Regions from separate parts of the Homo sapiens genome. Here region 2 is linked to region 1. The links are contacts of gene promoters, found by promoter capture Hi-C in human tissues and cell types (Jung and others, 2019). All regions are on one chromosome and are shown on one strand. The core of a region is centred on a gene start or on the middle of the fragment in contact, and the rest is flanking DNA. Distances in the headings are between cores, read along the strand shown. Region 1 holds the start of KRT82 (keratin 82). Region 2 has its middle 14 kb from the start of KRT5.

What was found. The method cuts DNA at HindIII sites, captures the fragments that hold promoters and counts their contacts. A contact is called where the count stands out against the background at its distance.
Region 2: a fragment that was not itself captured here is called in contact with the fragment with the promoter of KRT82 in region 1 in 2 of the 25 tissues and cell types used here (aorta and thymus).

What each region holds. Positions count from the first base shown.
Region 1 is chr12:52,401,845-52,408,728 of GRCh38, forward strand. It overlaps KRT82 (keratin 82), which reads right to left and starts at 4,491. Exons shown (of 9, transcript NM_033033.4): 1 at 4,023-4,491; 2 at 1,857-2,065. The coding sequence starts at 4,433. The HindIII fragment of the contact is 10,212 bases long and covers 2,712-6,884 here.
Region 2 is chr12:52,531,452-52,538,289 of GRCh38, forward strand. No RefSeq gene overlaps it. Among named protein-coding and RNA genes, the nearest start is that of KRT5, 14 kb to the left of the region's middle. The HindIII fragment of the contact is 6,747 bases long and covers 1,922-6,838 here.

The sequences.
Region 1 (6,884 bases), core at 3,241-5,740:
TTTCCTCAGGCTCCTTGGGGCTCCTCAGCCCACTCACCACTCCCCTAAGGCAGAGGGAATTGGTCAGGGGGTTCAGTTTGATAAGCAGCATCAATTCATTAAAAGCTTCTCTGCTTCATCATGTCCATCTCTCTTTTTTTCCAGCAGAACTGCTGCAGCAACGGCCCTGGACTCTGGAGCCTAGCCCCCTGGGTTTGAATTCTGGCTCTGTCCCGTGCAAGCTGTGGGCAAGTTGGGTAAGTGACTTGGCCTTTCTGCCTCATGATGCACAGCTTCGTCATCCATAGAATGAGGCTAACACTAGTTCTGCCTCACAGGGCTGTTGTGAGCTAACATGTCACATGCATTAATACCTGAAGAGCACTAGGACAGTGCCTGGTACAGGCTCTGTACTGTGAAAGTGTTTGCTATTATTCTTAAAATACCAGTTGGACCTCATCCTTCCCCGATTGTCTCACTTTTAAAAGCCAAAGTTCTCATCTTGAGCTGCAAATCCTGTCTCTTAATCTCACCTTGCTACTCACTCCTCAAGAAAGGCATTGCTTCTGCTGACAGGCTGGCCTCCAGCCCTCCCACAGCCTCACTGCATCTCACCTGTCACAGTCTGCTAGAGTTGTCCCCTTCACTTGGCAGGCCCTTCCTCTTTCTTGCCACCCATTCCTGTCCTTTCCCCATTTCCAAAATGGAGGATAATGCCATTGGAATGAGCCATTATCCTCCAAGGGCCAGAGCAAATCGCACCTCCTCCAGGAAGGCTTCCTGGACTCCCGCTCTTTCCCTTTCTTGGGATTCCTCTCCCTTCTTCTCTGTTTGTGTGTAGGTGCAGGTGGTCTGTGCACACTGGACTGGGAAAGAGTTAGCCTTTTTTCTTTCAATAGCACCCACACTTTCTAGCACAGTGTCTGGCATTGAGTAGGCATGTGGTTGACACCTGCAGTGAGTGTCCCCAACACGGCTCCACTTCACTGACCCAAACCCTTATGACCTGTTGCTCTCAGTATATTTGCCCTGTTTCTCCTCAATAGAAAGACACCTGTTTCAACTTGCCTGCCTCTAACATGCACTCCCATAGGACACTGGACTGTCACAAGGCACTGGATTCCCATGGGGCACTGGATTCCCATAGGACACTGGATTCCCATGGGGCACTCAGCCCGGGACCTGGTGAGAAAATTTATCTGGGCCTCAGCCTCTTGAAAGCACTTAATTACCATATGCTTATCAACCACCTACTCCAAGCTGTGAATTAGACCTGGAGCTCATCCTCAGGGGGAGCAAGTGTGGCAGAAGACAAAACAGGAACCACAAAGAACTGGGAAGTGAGGCAGAAGGAGCTAGAGCCTGATATGCAGGGAAAGGGCAGAAGGGCTGTGCAGGAAGCCAGAGTTGGGGGTGAGAGAAAAGGTGGGCTGTGGTAGCTTGGACATGGAGCAGAGAGATGCTGACAGGGGTGTGTCAGGCAGGAGAAGCAGCAGGAACAAAAGCCCGGAGGGAAGAGGCCTGGGGATCTGTCTGTGGAATAGGAAGTAGTTCAGGATCTGCAAAGGCACAACAGGCAGTTTCAGCTGGAAGCTGGAGCTCCAGAAGCCACACATGAAAGAGCTTATTTTACAGAGAGAGAGAGATCTGAGGGCTTTATTTAGGTGGAGTAGTGGGGAGAGAGATGGCAATACACAGTCTCAGAGCTCCTACCGTGTGCCAAGTGGGGTGCCCTGCTGACACCATCCCACCTAACTGTTCTGCCACCCAGTGAACTAAGTTTAGGCTTCCCATTTTATAAATGGGGAATCAGGGCCCAGACTGTTTCTGTCCCTTGCCCCAGGTCCACCAGTGGGGTAAAAGCAGCACTGACTCACTTTTTCTTGTAGCCCTCCAGTGCAGCCTGGAGGCTGCAGAGCTCTGACTCTAGCCTCACGCGGTCCCCGGACACACAGTCCAGCTGCCGCCGAAGGGCGCTGATATAGCCCTCGAAGATGGGCTCGATGTTGGTCTGGCAGCACCTCTGCTGCTGCATGAAGTTCCACTTGGTCTCCAGCAGCTTGTTCTTCTGCTCCAGGAAACGGACCTGCAGCCAAGAATGGAATATCACCAGGCAGCAGAGATCCTGGGGACCATGACTTAGAGAGGGCAATGGAATGAGTTTCTGCCCTGTCTCCCAACACATGGCTACCAGTGCACTAGAATTTGCAAAAATCAGGGTCTCTGCATAGACTGGCATCTGAGGGCATGTGTGTCTGTGTCTCCCCTGCCTGGGAGAGCCTAGTGGACCCCTACTTTCCACTCAGAGGTTGCGTGTTGTAGTGGATGGTACTTCTCCAAGAGGCCTAGGCAAGTCCTGTTTCAGCACTGCCTGCCTGCCTCTCTCTATCCTCGTGACCTTGACCAAGACATCCTGTCCCTTCAAGCCTCACTTTGCTTCCCAAAGCTCCTACCTGGGACAGTGTATGGGAAGGGACTCTGTTAACTTCATACTAGTGTCAGAGGATGTGAAGCTTGGGGGTCGAGGCTTTCCTTTATGACAGCCTAGGGACACTCAGGGGAAAAGACGGATCAAGGGACTCTAAGCTCTTTTCACCTACTGTGCTGCATCCTACATGGCTGTATCTGAAAAAAGTCCAGGTCCTAGTAATGTGGACAGCTGCTGGCCTCCTCCTCCCTTTTCGTAAAGTGGAAACTGAGATTAGGAGTTGAGTAAGTTCACCATGGCCACCCGGCTGGACATTGACTAAGGGAACGTGGTCTCCAGCCCTTGCTCTGGAATTTTCCACATCGTGCATTGTCTGTCAAGAAAACTACAGAAGTATCATTGCCCTACTTCTGGTCAGTGGCTGCATCAACAGGAGGCTCCCAGCCTAACAGAAGGTGGTGTGATGTTGTTGCTAATTCGGGCCCATGTTTTTGGAATAAGTTTATAGCCAGAACTTAATAAGCTTTAGAAATAAAACTGTAAGTTTGACTAAACAAGTTCCTCTGTGAAGCACTTTGGCATATATTACCTCCTCTAATCTCCCACCGTCATTCCTCCCCTTCCTCACTGGGCAGCACCGTCCAAAGGCCAAGAGGTGAATGGCTTGCCCGGGGATTCCGGGTGTAGGAGTAGAGTCAATGCCAGTGGCCAGGGCTCCTGACCTCTGGCCCAGGACTCTTGCCCCTAAACCTTACGGTCACCAGAAACACCAGCTCAAACTGTGGAATGAATCCTCACCCCAAGAGCCTCCCTGGGGCGTGGGATGGACCCAGAGGCTGTTGAGTCCTTCAGCACCTTCAGAAGGCATGCCACATCTTTTCCTGCAGTGGGTGCTGTACTGTAGATGTGGGAATCTGCGCTCTTCCTGCAGTGGGTGCTATACTGTAGATGTGGGAATCTGCACTGTTCCTGCAGTGGGTGCTGTGCTGTAGATGTGGGAATCTGCACTGTTCCTGCAGTGGGTGCAGATTCAGTTCAGCACCTTCTGAAGGCATGCCTTCCTAGCAGCCTTTCAGTGGCTCTGGAGATGACAGATGTAAGACTTTTGTGACCGTCACCCTGTGCCTCTAGCTCTGACTGTCCACTTTCCTCTCATCCCAGGCCTAAAATGATTGGAAACTCTGAGGTCACAGTGTCCATCCTCACCTTCAGGCTCAAGAGTTGTGACACAGCTCAGGCACACAGAAGGCGGTTCTACTGTTAAAGCCTCATCAGGAAGGGCATTTCTCTGCCTCTCTGGTCATTCCTTTCAGTATTGCTTTGGAAGTTCCTCTTATAGTCTGACCTCAGGCAACCTTGGTGATTGGTGATTTTGTCAGATAATATTCAGAGAAAGATGATATATTTTAAGAAAGACAAGGAAGCAGAAATGTTTAGTGCAGAATCTGATCTAACTGGCTTTCAAAGGCTGGTGGTCGTGGAATGTGAGGGAGGCCACTGGATAAACTGAGGCCTCCTCAATGTCAGTCTCCTCCTGGTTCCCTTGGACCAGAACAAGACCAGACCCCAGATCTGCAGTGGGTCCTCTCACGGCCCTGGGCCACTGCCCCCTTACCTTGTTGATGAAAGATGCGAAACGGTTGTTGAGGCACTTGATCTGCTCCTTCTCATCCCTCTTTACCCTCTGCACAGTCGGGTCTATCTCCAGTGCCAGTGGGACCAGCAGGCTCTCATTGATGGTGACAGGGGTGATGCAGGCAGAAGGCCCACAGGTGGCTCCCAGTCGGTACCCGAAGCCAGGCAGGGTACCTCCACACCTGGAGGCTACCCGGGGCCTCCCAAAGCCCACGTTGCACAGGCTCCGTGAGCCAAGGCAGCCCAGAGCTCGGAGGCCCCTACCACCCCCGGGCCGGCATGGCCCCTTGCTCACTGCATAGTGGGTGACCATCCGGGGCATGACAGCCGAGTATGAGCTGAAACTCTGACTGCCACACCTGGAGCCTGGCTGGAAAGAGTGGTACGACATGGCAGGAGAGAGAGGCAGAGAAATGCGGCCCTGGAGGAAAGAACCGGGGCAGGATGATCAAGTCAGGCTCAGCTTCCCCCCTTTTATCTGGTAGGGGGATGGAGGACTGAGATGTGTCAAACCCCAAATCACCATTAAACTAGGTTTATGAGCTTGGGATATTGGCAGAGCTAAGTAGCAAGGTGGATAATTAGGGTAGCGAAGAGCAAAGAGAAGGGGCCAATGGTCAGTGCTGGTGGGCCCTATAAAAATCCTATTTGTCCTCCTTCCTTGATTGTGGGGGTGATGAAAGGGGCCAACCAGACAGATATGTTCCATGTATCCAGTGGCTCAGCCTCAAGGAAAGGGAGAGTTGGGACTACGTCATTTCATAGGAGGGGAGGCGTGCCATGAATTATACACCCTGGCTTCTCTGGGATTAGAGGGCAAGTCCCATATGCTTAAAGATGCTCTGGCTCTTTCCCCAAGGCTGCTCCTAGGCTTTTTTGCAGATCCTCAACCCAAGTGCCCTCTGTGGGCTCCTAGGTGAGTCAGGAAGTTCCCAGGAGGAAGGCTTTTGGGGTGGGAGAATCCTCCCTACAACAGGCCGGACCTTAACCCTCCTGAGCTCTGGCTCAGTGACCCACTGTCCCATGAGGGTCTTGAAGGTAGACAGACTCCAGGCATAGACACTTTTCTACAGGGCCCATCAGTCCACAAAGGCTGCAGGGAACTCAAGAGGAGAGGCCTGGTGCTTGAGAAGGGCAGAGGAAGGGACGCTCTCCTCAACACTTCTGGGGCCCCCAGAAGGCATGATTTCAGCATCAGGTCTCGGCTTCCATGTGGCTGTTCCTTTCCCCTTTTGCCCAACCCAGCCTGAGTGTCCCTGAGGTCAACAGAGCCAGCTTTGGCCTGAGGATGTCTCTGGGGAGAGTTGTTGCCCTTGGGAATTTTCAGGTGGAGGTGGGATTCAGGTTTTCTTTCCAGCTCAGGTCGCAGACACAGCTCTTTGGAGATGTCTGAAGCCCCCGCCTCACTCTCTTTCCTCCTCTTTTCCATCAATTTCATCAGTGAAACTTTTGCCATGGCCGAATGGCCTTTCCCTTCCACACTGAGACTTATCACCAGGTCAAAATCAAACCAATAATAATAATAATAACAATAATAAACATTTATTGGGCATTTATTGTGTGTTGGGACCACTCCGTACTCTTTACATCCATGGTCTCATTTAATTCTCTGACCACACAATGAGATAGTTACTATGCCACAGACAGGAAAATGGGAAGCACAGCAGTTAAGAGCAACATCCCCAAGTCACACAGCTTGTGGCTGATCAGCTGGGAGTCCATCCTGTTCCTTTTGACTTCACCCTGCCATGCTGCTCCACAGCAGGGAAGCCCAGGTGAGGAATTGGGAATCTGCTGCCCATAAATGTTCTGTTGTCCCTGTCCGTCAGCCTTCCAACCTGTGGATTAGGAGACTGGAACTCAAAGGTTTCCTGAGCCTCAGAAATTCTCAGTCTCATTGTGACATTTCACACTCCCTGTCCCCTTTTTCATAGTCCTGACTGTGGGCCCCAGAGTAGTGGAGGAGGAGGGGTGCAAGGCGAGACCACAGGCCACAATGGGAGGCAGAAGGTTGGGTGAGGGGGTCCAATTGCAGGGTGTCAGGGGAAGAAGACCACACTCTTCCCTGGACTGAGTCCACAGAGGGGGCCCAGGATGGTGTGAATGTTGATGGAGACACTCAGAGGCCCCACCAGAGAGCAGATTCCCACTAGAGGGGGTGAGGGAGACAGTGAGCTGCACCGGAGGGCAGGGGTCACTGCAGCAGTGGACACAGCAGAGTCTCCCCGCCATGTCCAGGCCAGAGGAGGGCCTCAGTGAGCATGTTGGGCTCCTGGAGTCCAGAACCAGAGCTCAGGAGCAGAGGGCAGGGCGGTTCCTTGGATTCATTGTGGGAGGGAGGCACCTGTTTCCTGAGCCCCCCGAGTCCAGGGTTGCCCTCTGAGTGTGAGCTAGGGCAGGACTCAGTCAAGACCTAGACAGTTTGGCGGCATTTTATGAAAGTGGGTTCAGGAACTAGGGGGCATAAGGGAGCAGGCAGTTGAGAAGGGTGTGATTTTCTTCTGGAGCAGTGAACTCCGTCTTCACTTTGGCAGTGCAGTAGACAATCTCTACCTGCCTTTGGAATGCGTTTTGGCAGGTGTCTTGGGGGTTGATGACTCTTCAAATTAAATACAGAAACCACCCTTTGAAGGCCTCAAAGAAGAATCCCATGCCTACCTCACTCCCAATTCCACGCCAGCCTCCTCCTGTGTCCTTCTGGGGCTCAGCAATGTGTCCCCTCAGAGCGAGGAAAAACACCAAAGAAAGAGCCACCTCTCCTCTGAGTGCACTATCCTGGGCCTCTGCTGTGGGGTAGAGAATGTGGTGTCCTGGCTTAAGGAGCTTCAGTGTCAGCCATGGC
Region 2 (6,838 bases), core at 4,045-6,544, 130 kb after region 1:
CTAAGATGGCTGAGGCGGGCCGTTTCCAAAACCCTCCTGAGGGCTGAGGGCAGGAGCTTGTCAATCAGGCTTCAGAGTCTATACTCCCTGTTCCTATTCATCTTGCTCTGAAGCAGAATTGGCCTTTAACCAGCCTGGGAAGCATCTCTCTTCAGCACGTGGCTGGGCCCTAAGTGACACCGGCCGCCTGGTCGCAGACATGCTCCTCCACCTGCCTCTGAAAGCAGAGTGGCTGTGTCTCCCTTCCACCTCCCCTTCCTGGAGCACCACAGTTGCACTGTGCTTGCCGGGAGGCACCAGAGAAATGGAGCTCACCACATACGCACCAGACCCACCGTACAGCTGCTGGCGGTTCTCACGGCCAGCGTGTTCTTCGTCATTGTGAGTTGAAATCTGCCTCCCTCTAACATCCACTTCCCCATCGTTGTTCCGCTCTGTGGAGTTTCACAGAAGAGGATCAGACCCTCTTCCTCTTTGACAAGTATTTCTATGTTTGTGGACATTTCTTGGTCTCCCTTCTCCAACTCCAAGGATGCTGACTCCTAGGGAGAAGACATGGTTAAATCCTAGGCTGCTTACACCGGCAGCTTCCTGACCCAGCTCCTCACAGCCCTCAGGAGTGTCTGCAGCCCTTGCCACTAACGCAAGCCCAGTATGGCATTGCTGGCCTCTCCAGCGGTGCCCCTTCAGCCCTCTTTCACATTTATATGAGTCAAATATTTCCCAAGCTACGGTCATTCAGGGACCACCAACAGAAGTTTGCCTGTATCCACAAACCACTTGTCCTGTTATTTTCTTTAATACGTGTCTTGTTTAATTGGCTTACATATTGACCTAGTATATTTGTTTGATAAGGAAACTCTGTTAACTACTGACTTACATATTTTCTAATTACACCAAAATCATGCCATGACCATAACACAGGCTGTGCCATGCAACCTGAAGTGATTTTGTGTGCCTGCAGCAGCATACCCTTTCTTCCCAGGGAGCTCGGCTTTACCACATCTGCCCTCCCCTCTGCCCCTCCTCAAGCCTTGGCCCCAGACGACTTCTAACATAGCTCTGGGCTCCTCCTTTGAGTAAGTAGTTTTAGAGATAGACCTTTCTTGTTTCCTGGGTCCCTGTTCATTCTCCAGCCTGGAAGGCCAAGCCTTTCCCTTGCTCTCTGATCTCAGGCCTCTTCTCCCACCACACAAGGAACCTCTCCTGCAACACTTAGGAGAGGGCTGGGTTGTGGGGCCAGGGTTCATGCCTGGGCCGCCTTAAACCTCTGAGTGTCCAGCTGTGTGCCTGGATGAACACACACCCCTGATGCAGAGTCAGGGTGGCGTGGGGGAATCTCTGTAATGACACCATCGAGGGGCTGGAAACCACAAATGAGCACTTGGAAAGTTGTACTGCAGTCCTTAGAGGGTGAGAGGGTGAGTGTGGCAAACTGCAGCTTCTGACCAGGCCGTCAAAACAACAGGGGCTGTGGGAGGTTCAGCCTGGGTGTGTTGGGGAAGGGGGAGAAGGCTGTGGTGCCCCACCCTACCCCACCCCACCTGTGATAGGTGCTGCCTACAGAGAGATGCTGGGAACCACTCCTGCCGCCCTCTGGCAAGACCTGGGACAAATACCTGAAAAGCTTCTCACCCTAACGCACTTGGCTTCTCCCTGGGTCACTGGGTCACTGGGCCCCTTGCTTGGTTTTGACCGTCTCTGCAGTTCCTGCCCAGTCCCAAAGGCTGACTCCAGCTTCATCCTTTTCCCTCCCAGACCCTTACTGTTGGCCCCACACAGAGTACCCCTCCTCTCTGGAAGCCCTAAGGACCCTTGCTACTCCAGGACTTGGACCTGTGTCTTCAGGTGCTGGATCTGGGACAAAAGAGGGAGACAGTAAAATTTCTCTCTCCCTAGGTAGGAGAGAATATGGCCGGCCACTTCACCCTGGTGGCCCTAAGCATGTTTCATAGTCCCTCTGGCCCTAAATTTCCTTATTAATATAAATTGGTTGGGGGGGGGTTGCTAATAGGATTGTTGAGGATTTAATAAGAAATATCCTTAAAGAACGTAGCTCATGGCCTGACACACAGGAAACCCTCAATTAACTATAGCGATGATCACTATTCCCACCTTCAAGGTTTATCTCTGTGTTTATTTCCCATTCCCATTTCCTTGACGGGCTCTGCACCTCTCCTTTCCTATCCCGTCCTCCTGTCTTTTGACACCGGAAGCTTGGCCTGGGTACCTGGTTCTCCCCCAGTTGGTGTCCCAAGTGTGGGTGCTGTCTCCAAAGTCCCCTTAGACTTGGTCAAGAGGGGCCCCTGCCTTGGGCCTTCTAGTTGCCCTTGTTCCACAGAGTGAGGAGTCTGCAGGGCCAAGGGCCATGCTCATGGGGTCCACACTCCCCTTCTAGACCCGCTCAGCTACCTAAAACCCCAGCATTCCCTCCCCAGTGACTCCCAGCCCACGCTCAGGCCTGTCCTCTGGAGAGCAGACTGCCGGGTGCTGGGCACACCTCTAGGCTGTCTGCAGATTGTGGTTGTGTAGGCAAGGGAGCAAAGCCAGGGGTAGGAAGAGAAAGGGGCAGGCTGCAGGCCAGGAGCTGGGAATTCTCTCCATGCTGCCACATTCCAGAGTTCTGGAACTCTGACGAGTCCAAAATTAAAATCTCCAACTGAGCCTGGCCTACTGGGTCCGTCTGTGGGAGACTCAAACCTCTTGGTCCACTGGCCTGGAGACATTTTAGAAGTGGAGGCTTTGTCTCGGAGCATGGAGGGGATAGGCCTGCCTGGGCTCCCGGCCTGCTGACTGTGTTCTGCTTGACACCAGGCCAGCTGGGCTAAGCGTTCAGATGTAAAGAGGAAGCTGCTGGGGCCTCCTGACAGCAGATGCAAAGCTGAGGTACCCAAACACCTCGACCTTTCTCAGGGGCTCATGTAAGCAAATTGCTTTATCAGCTTTATCAGTTTTTACATTTTCCTTACGCATTTTCATAGAATTTGCCCCATATTCCATGCCATTTTCTCAGGACATCCTTTTGAGCATCCTGGACCCAACCGTCTTCATATAAGAAGAAAAATTTTAGTTTTGGTTTCATCCATGATTATCCTAGACCCAAACATTTAGAAATAAGTTGTTATATGGAATAGCCACCCGAAGGTGTGAGTTTGGGCATAAAAAGCACACATTGCATATATCCTTATCTGTATAGAGTCACGTGGACCTGATTCTGCCACCTTCTGGCTGCGTCACCTGGGGCAAGTTATTTAACGCCTCTAAGCCTCAGGTTCCCCATCTGTAATCTGAAGCCCTGGCCTAGTAGATCTCTAGATAAACTCTAACATCACTCCTACCCCTAAAACTCTGGTACTTACCCCCTTTACTCTTCCTTCTTTATTTTGCATTCAGCCCAGGGATCTCATCTTCCCAAAGCTTCTTTCATGTTCCTGCCCCTTTTACCTTCACAGTTCCTGACATTGGAGAAGGCAGTGTTTTAAAGCCCAGCTCCAATGCCCTTTAATCCAGAAAGCCACACTCTTCAGTCGCTACATTGGAAGACCCACCTTGGAGGCTGGACGGAAACCTGGGGGTTCACCCAGCTCAACCCCCTCATTTAACAGGAAGGGAAACTGAGGGCAAAATGAGGCAGTGACTTAGAGACAGAGCCAGGTCTGGAACCCAAATGCCCTTTAACCTTGCCACCTCTGGGATCCACAACCCTCAGGGCCACCATTTTAACTTGCACATATTATTATTACTGTGATCATCTGTGCTTCCTTAGAACCTTAATACCTCTGAGGGCCAGAATCACATTGTGTTCATTCTGTAGCCACCCTGTCCTGCGCCAACCCTCCAGCATCATCCCTGTACCAGATGGTACCTCAATAAGTGTCTGTTAAGTTTCACTAAACATAAATCCCATTTTGATCGTTGCAAAAAAACCACGTCTCATTTGAAGACCTCCCTGTGTTCTTATATCTGACTACTGTTGTGGTAGAGCAAACTGAAAGGGTTTGCAAAAGCCGATTGTTAAATTTTGAAGAACGTTGTGAGCTGTTATTAAACATAGCCATAATTCAAATTAAATTATGTAAAATTATAGTTAAATACATTGCATTAAAAACAAAGGGAAGAAATGTTTAAAACTCATCATTTTCTAATTTTATTATACTTTACTTTGATATATTATCAAAGTTCTTGTGGTTGTTGACATTTATTGAATCTACATGCAGAAATCCCCTACCATGGTGTTCACATCTCTTTCCAGCCTGTAATCAGTGACATCATGTTGGTAGCTTGAAATCACCTTTGTGGGAGAATTTACCCCAAGCGAACTGGCAAGCACTACAAATCAGAGCTTGGTTTATTGTTTGGTTGATTGTCTGGAGCTGCACAGCCTCACACAGCTGCCACTAGTTCCATGTGGCTAACTGAGCACTTGAAATGTGGCTAGTCCAAGCTTAGATATGTCATATGTACTGGATATTGAAGATTCAGAATGGAAGAAAAGAATGTAAAATATATCATCAAAAATGTTTATATTGATTATCTATTGAAAGAATAGTGTTTTCTATATATTATGTCAAATATATTAGAATTAATTTAGTCTATTCCTTAAATGTGGCTACTAGCAGATTTTAAATAATATCTGTGGCTTTCATTGCATTTCTACTGGACAGCTCTGGTCTAAATTTAATAAAGTGATGGGGAAAATGTTTATAACGTAGATTAAAATTAAAAGTATGTTGTGCCCATTGATAATAACATTATGAATAGCCAAAAAATACAAAATAATATCCCGGTATTTAAAACCCATTATCTGATTCAGCCAAAAAGTCACTCACATCATTGAGGAGCAAGTAAGTTCCAACATTCATCTTCATCATTTCACGTTCATCTTAACTGTGAAGATGAACATGGGAGCTAACATTCATGTGGGGGCTATGCTGGTTTGTTGGTTGCAGCCACTGGCCAGCCATGGGCATAAGAGTTTGTCAAAAGCCAACTGAAAGCATTCCATGAGGGTCACTTGGCTGTATCAAGTTTATAATAAAGAGTATTGTAGGGCTGGGCACGGTGGCTCACGCCTGTAATCCCAGCACTTTGGGAGGCCGAGGTGGGTGGATCATGAGGTCAGGAGATCGAGACCATCCTGGCTAACATGGTGAAACCCCATCTCTAATAAAAATACAAAAAATTAGCCGGGCGTGGTGGCGGGCGCCTATAGTCCCAGCTACTTGGGAGGCTGAGGCAGGAGAATGGCTTGAACCTGGGAGGCGGAGCTTGCAGTGAGCCGAGATGGTGCCACTGCACTCCATCCTGGGCAACAGAGCGAGCCTCCGTCTCAAAAAAAAAAAAAAAAAAAGACTTGTAGATTTTATTATTATTTGTAAACTGTATGCTACATATCTAATATAGCAGTAAAACTTCTAGTAAACTTATAACATAAACATAAATACACATTTACATGTATATATATTTGTATATATACACATCTATGCATTTTTTCAGAGAGCTGGTTGTTAGGCTCAGCAGCACACTTTAGTTACCAGCACACCACTGTCTCCACCCCTCTCGCTACCCTGTGAGCCCATTGCCCAGGCCCTGTCCTTTGTGGCACTGACAGCCTGTCCCTTCCCTTCCTTCATTTTCCAAATCCGCAGAGTCTCAGAGGTGTGGACTAGAGGTCCCTGCGCCTCCTCTTCCCCTCCTCCCTTTTTTCCACTTTGGACATCTTTTTCAGTCTATTCTCCACTCCACTGTCCTGCCTCCCATCCCAGTTTGTAGACACGTGCCCTGGATAGTCAACCACAGTGCCACAGAGATGTCATTCCCCAGGTTGGCACTCAGCCCCAGCCCTGCCTGCCTGCTCTTGCCCTTCGGTACTGGCTGCTGACAGGCCTGGCACTCAGGATGTCAGGTGGTGACTAGGTCTCCCACCTGTCTGCTAGTCTTTTCTAACCCCATCAAAGATAGCTCTGAAGCAAGACCAAGGGGTGCCTACATCACAGAGAGGGGAGTCTGTGCCAGTGAATGGTGTCCAGAGCACTGGGGACACAGCTCTGCGGCTCTGCAGGTTTCTTGTAATCGCCATCATCGCAAACACCTTGTGCAGCCTGCAGCAATTCTGCCATGAACACCACACACAAAAAACACTACACCACCCAAGCTGTGCCCACCAGGAACCTCCAGGATGCAGGGGACACATTGATCAAGACTTCCAAAGGTCGAGGAGGGGGTACTTGGGGGTAGAAGTAGCAATCCTGTTTAAAGTAAATCATGAACTTTGGAGCAAGGCATGGCCTTAGAAGGAGACTCCAAGAGTTCGGTTCAGGGAGAAGTACAGGGGAAAGTTCCACTGCAGTGGGGTGAGATGGAGAAGGAAGTTAGAGACTGAAGCTCTGATTAGTCCCCTGGAGGAGGCAACATTTCAGAAACGTGGTCTAAAATACACTGGTCTAGGGCACAAGAAGAAGGAGGAGGAGACAAGTACTCCCGCTGCTGGGAAATCGATTTAGGACTAGAGTCCCCAGTGAACCCCTAAAAATTACCCACAGTTTCTAGGGTAGGTATTATTGTATCTAATAATAGTAATCATTTATTGCTATAGCTAACATTTATTGAGCTCTTACTATGGGCCTGGGATTTTATGTCTCAAACAAAAAGATGCAAAGAAGTAGTTATTATTATTATTATTACTGTTATTGTTATTATTATCCTCACTTCTACAGAAGCGAAAAGAGACTCAAGAAGATTAAAGAACTTGCTAAGTGTGGCAGCCCTGCTGGAGGCTGGGCCCAGAGCCAGGCCCCTCACCCCTGCAAGGCATCGCTCCTGCAGGATCGTCGTCACC